Linked DNA regions of Homo sapiens: region 1 is linked to region 2. Evidence: promoter capture Hi-C in 16 types of primary human blood cells and fetal thymus (Javierre and others, 2016). All regions are on one chromosome and are shown on one strand. The core of a region is centred on a gene start or on the middle of the fragment in contact, and the rest is flanking DNA. Distances in the headings are between cores, read along the strand shown.

Region 1 (2,700 bases), core at 191-2,690, 290 kb before region 2:
TCTGTGCTGGCTCATGAGCCGCTCGTGTCAAGGGCAGGACAAGATGGCAAACCCCAGGTTCTCATGAGCAACCACAACCGGCCTCGAACCACCAACCTGGACTCAACCAACGACACTCAAAACAACAGACACCACCGGCTCTTTATACATCCATGGCAAGGGCCTGGGGACATTACAGGTCACTCTGCTCCCAAGGGGCAGAGCTCACCACAGACTTCACCTCCTGCGGCAGGACTGGCCTTCCCAGATCCACAATGCCGCGGAAGCAGAGCCATGCCGCCTCTCCACTCTCCGCCAACCGCGACAAGTAAACGACTCACAATAGGTCCATTTAAAAAGGCAAATGGAACTTACCTTAGGGGAAAAAAACCTGCCCAAAGCAAAAGGAACATATCCACCAAAAAAAGAAGTGTCATTCCCCCAAATATGTACAAATTAACTTTCTAGCTAAAAGAAATCTGGCAACTTTAAAATTAAAGTTGAGCAGAGCGCGGTGGCTCACATCTGTAATCCCAGCACTTTGGGAGGCCGAGGCAGGTGGATCACTTAAGCTCAGGAGTTTGAGACCAGCCTGGCCGATGGCAAAACCCCGTCTCTACAAAAAAATACAACATTTAGCCTGGTGTGGTGGTGTTTACCTGAAATCCCAACTACTTAGGAGGCCGAGGAGGGAGGACTGCTTGAGGCCAGGAGGTTGAGGCTGCATTAAGTTATGACCACACCACTGTGCTCCAGCCTGGGTGACAGAGTGAGACCCTATCTCAAAAAATAATTGAAATAGGGCTGGGCACGGTGGCTCACGCCTGTAATCCCAGCACTTTGGGAGGCCAAGGCAGGTGGATCACCTGAGATCAGGGGTTTGAGACCAGCCCGGCCAACATGGTGAAACCTCGTCTCTATTAAAAATACAAAAATTGGCTGGGCGTGGTGGTGCATGCCTGTAGTCCCAGCTGCTAGGGAGGCTGAGGCAGGAGGATTGCTTAAACTCGTGAGCCAGACGTTGCAGTGAGCCGAGATCGCGCCATTGCACTCCAGCCTGGGCAACAGAGTGAGACCCTGTCTCAAAAATAATAATAATAAAATACAAAGACAATGAACACAGGGTTTACAAGTCCCTTTCTACGTGTTTTCCTTATTTTTCTAGGGCTGCCTAGTTATTTATCTGATCAGGGCCTTTGTCCCATGACCCCCAGAACCCCAGGAAAGAACACCAATATTCATTACCCTCAGGTGAAAAGACTGTTTTCCAGGGCCATTTGAAAATGCTTTTAAATCTGATGTATTTGTTCTGATCATTCTAAATACACACGTTGGTAGACCCACACAAGAGACAAATACAAAATAAAACTATTAAAAATCCAGAAACAGAGAATATGTTTAGGAGAGAAAAAAGTCTCCTAGGAATTTACTTCTGCCCCAGTATGTATGAACTAACTTTTGGTTCTTTTCTTTTGAGATGGAGTCTCACTCGGTTGCCCAGGCTGGAGTGCAATGGCGCAATCTCAGCTCACTGCAACCTCCACCTCCCGGATTCAAGCGATTCTCCTGCCTCAGCCTCCCGAGTAGCTGGGACCACAGGCACGTGCCACCACACCCAGGTAATTTTTGGATTTTCAATTGAGATGGGGTTTCACCATGTTGGCCAGGCTGGTCTGGAACTCTTGACCTCAGGTGATCTGACTGCCTCAGCCTCCCCAAATGCTGGGATTACAAGTGTGAGCCACCGTGCCTGGCCTAACTTTTGGTTCTAAAACAAGTAAGATGAAAAATCAAAATCCACACTTCAAAAACATCCAATCTACCTAATTCCTTGTATAGGAGCTCAGACCGCAAGTCCTGTCATTTGAAAAGGTTTCCTGAAAGTACACTTCAACCCATTTTCACGTGCAGCCGGCAGCTGCCTCTCGGATTCTCTTCTAAGGAGTTCAGCCCCTAACACGTATTTCAGCCTTGCTGAGAAGGGCGTGAAAAAGACCGCAGCAACATGGGAGGGGCAAGTTCCCCCCTCGCTCCTCCAGGGTCGTGCTCCCTGGAAAGAATGGGTGCAGCAGAGGCACAGTTACTTATTAGGATGTGCAAACAGCTGGAGGGGCCCACGGTCTCACTTTCCTGGGGCTTTTTGGACCTGGTGGTAGGAGTCCATTTACAGGTATGCGCCCTGGCCCCCAAGGTGGCGACATCGGACTCTCCAGGGCAGCCTGTGTTCCTTGGACCTAAGCTCAAAGGACGGGGTTGGCCTTGGTGGGTGGGGTTTCCACTGGAAGGACCTGGAGGCCTGCCGGAGGGCGAGCGTGGCGTCTGGGCTGGGTATGACCAGGTCGGTTCTGAAGCCGGTTGCAGCCACACCTGGCAGGCAGGGGCTCCCATCAGGGGTATTAACAGGTTCTGTCACTGGCACTGGGGCTGCCGAGCCTGTTCTCATGGTCAGCATGGGCTCCGGGCCTTTTTCAAGCTACCTGTTGCCCGGGAGACATTTTTGAGAGATACGGGTTGGGTCACCGTTACTTTCCCAGTGACACGGGGCCATGTGCTGTCTCAATGTCCCCACTCCGGGGAGGGGCTCTTGTTTTTTTATTGTTTTTTGAGACAGGGTCTCTCGCTGTCGCCCAGGCTGCAGTGCAGTGGTGCGATCATAGCTCAATGTAGCTTCAACTTCCTGGCCTCAAGCAATCCTCCCTCCTCGGCCTCCCAAAGTGCTGG
Region 2 (2,714 bases), core at 192-2,691:
TGCTGGCATTACAGATGTGAGCCACCACGCTTGGTCTAATATGTCATCTGCTAAAGGGGGACTTTGCCTGGGCACAGTGGCTCATGCCTGTAAATCCAGCACTTTGGGAGGCTGAAGCAGGTGGATCATTTGAGCCCAGGAGTTTGAGACCATACTGGCCAACACAGTAAGACCCCATCTCTATAAAAAAAAAAAAACAAAATTAGCCAGGTGTGGTGGTGCACGCCTGCAGTCCTAGCTACTTGGGAGGCTGAGACGGGAGGATCACTTGAACCCAGGAGTTGGAGGCTGCAGTGAGCTATGATCCTGCCACTGCACTCCAGCCTGGGCAATAGAGTGAGACCCTGTCCTCCACCAACACCAAAAAAAAAAACAAAAAAACAAAACAGGGCTCCTCTCTCTTGGTAGGGGGTGGAGGGGAGGTCAGAGACACCTCTCAGCCACCCGGGCTGATTCACAAATATCGAACATTCACTAAAATGTCAATACAGTGACCTAGAGCCAGAGGGGAAGAGGGAGGGTACAAGAGGAGAGTTCCAGGCAGAGGGGCGAGCAGGTGAGTAGGTGCAAAGGCCCTAAGCAGGAACCAGTTTGGCTCCATAAATATTTGTTGACTCAATGAACGATAGAAGATTCTAGAGAGAATTGATTGCACAGAATCACCCATGGGGACTCAGAGGCGGAGTCCAAGCTGGTTTCGGAGGGGGCTGGGGGCCGGAGGTTGGCAGGTGGGGTGAAGGATGGGAGCCGCTAGCTGCTGGCAGGAAAACTGGCTTCAGTGAAGATCTGGTCTGGTCCTCTTGGTTTGTTTCTGTCCAGGGAGTGGACAGGACCCATGTAAGGGCCCTGGGCTATCCCAGAACCCATCTGGGAATTCTGAAGAGAAAAAGTCCTGTAACTGGCCGGGTGCGGTGGCTCACGCCTGTAATCCCCGCACTTTGGGAGACTGAGGGGCCGATCACGAGGTCAGGAGTTCGAGACCAGCCTGGAAAACATGATGAAACCTCGTCTCTACTAAAAATACAAAAGTTAGCCGGGCATGGTGATGGGGACCTGTAGTCCCAGCTACTCGGGAGGCTGAGGCAGGAGAATCACTTGAACCCAAGAGGCAGAGGTTGCAGTGAGCCGAAATGAGATGGCACCACTGCACTCCAGCTTGGGCCACAGAGCGAGACTCCGTCTCAAAAAAGAAAGAAAAAAAGAAAAAGTCCTCATAAGTAGGGCAGAGGTCACGGCAGAGTGGAGGTACCCCAGACTTCGACCTTTGCTCACTGAGGGCTGGAAAACCACAAAACACCCAGATAACGGTCTTCCCTCCCCTGCTCCTGCCTGCCCCAGTGTCACTGGCCCTCAACCCTGTCTCTCCACCCTGTCCACCAATCAGCACCTGGAGGTGGGCTGGGAGCTGCCTGTGACCGCTTCAGCATCTTTTGGGAGTGGTGACAGAGCCACAGAGGGCTGTGAGCTTGCCCGGCCCCAGGTAACGCTGGCGGTGGGTGGGCCTCCAGCTTGGAGCAGAGACCCCCCGAGGCATCTGCAGACAGAACTGGATGGACCCATGAATACGGATTTAGCTGCTGGAAAGGTGAGCCCTACTAGGTCCCCAGGGAGAGCGGGAGTCTAGGCTGGGAAAGCCTACCCAAGCTGCCAGAGCTGGAAGGACCCCATCTCCACCCCTATTGTACAGATGGGAAGACTGAGGCCCAGAGAAAGGATGCAATGAGCAAAACTGTGTGCCTTTGCCCCGGGGCTGCCCTTGTCTTTCTTCCAGGTCCCCCTGCCTCCTAGGAGCGGGCACTTGGGGAGGCTGTGAAGGCCTGAGAGGCAAGCGGCATCTCTAGCTAGGGCCTCTCTCCAGCACTTTTTATTTTATTTTATTTTATTTTTATTTTTATTTTTTGAGATGGAGTCTCCCTCTGTCACCCAGGCTAGAGTGCAATGGCACGATCTCAGCTCACTGCAACTTCCACCTCCTGGGTTCAAGAGATCTTCCTGCCTCAGCCTCCCAAGTAGTTGGGATTACAGGTGTGCACCACCACGCCCGGCTAATTTTTGTACTTTTCCTAGAGACAGGGTTTCACCATGTTGGCTAGGCTGGTCTCAAACTCCTGACTTCAGGTGAGCTGCCCGCCTCGGCTTCCCAGAGTGCTGGGATTACAGATGTGAGCCACCGTGCCTGCCATACTTTTTTGTTTTTTGAAACAAGGTCTTGCTCTGTGACCCAGGGTGGAGTGCAGTGGGGTGGCCATAGCTCACTGCAGCCTCAACCTCCTGGGTTCAAGGGATCCTCCTACCTCAGCCTCCCCAGTAGCTGGGACGACAAGTGTGTGCCACCGCAGCCAGCTAATTTTTTTAAATTATTTGCAGTAGGGATAGGGGTCTCTATGTTGCGCAGGCTGGTCTTGAACTCCTGGGCTCAAGTGATCCTCCTGCCCCGGCCTCCCAAAGTGCTGAGATTACAGGCATGAGCCACCACATCCAGCCTCTCCAGCACTTTAAGAGAAATTGGCTCTCACACTGTGGAATTCTCTCTATCAGCCTCAAAGTCCAGATTTGGAAAGGGAGTCTCAGCGAGGGGCAGCAGCTGGCCCAACCCGGAGGCAGAGCGGCAACTGAACTCTAGCCGGAAAGAGCCAGGGTTATGTGCACATGGGAGGTGGGGAGGACAGGGGCTGTATGTGACCCTCACATCTGTTCCTCGCGCCCCAGATGGC

Evidence for each region. Contacts are between HindIII fragments. The CHiCAGO score rates a contact against its expected background, and 5 or more counts as called.
Region 1: a fragment that was not itself captured here is called in contact with the fragment with the promoter of CREB3L3 in region 2 in 1 of 17 cell types (M2 macrophages); the score reaches 5.2 in M2 macrophages.

Annotation. Positions count from the first base shown.
Region 1 is chr19:3,860,863-3,863,562 of GRCh38, forward strand. The region is part of intron 1 of ZFR2 (zinc finger RNA binding protein 2); the gene reads right to left. Among named protein-coding and RNA genes, the nearest start is that of ZFR2, 6.8 kb to the right of the region's middle. The HindIII fragment of the contact is 8,504 bases long and covers 1-2,700 here.
Region 2 is chr19:4,152,190-4,154,903 of GRCh38, forward strand. CREB3L3 (cAMP responsive element binding protein 3 like 3) reads left to right here and starts at 1,442. Exons shown (of 10, transcript NM_032607.3): 1 at 1,442-1,585; 2 at 2,710-2,714. The coding sequence starts at 1,559. The HindIII fragment of the contact is 35,033 bases long and covers 1-2,714 here.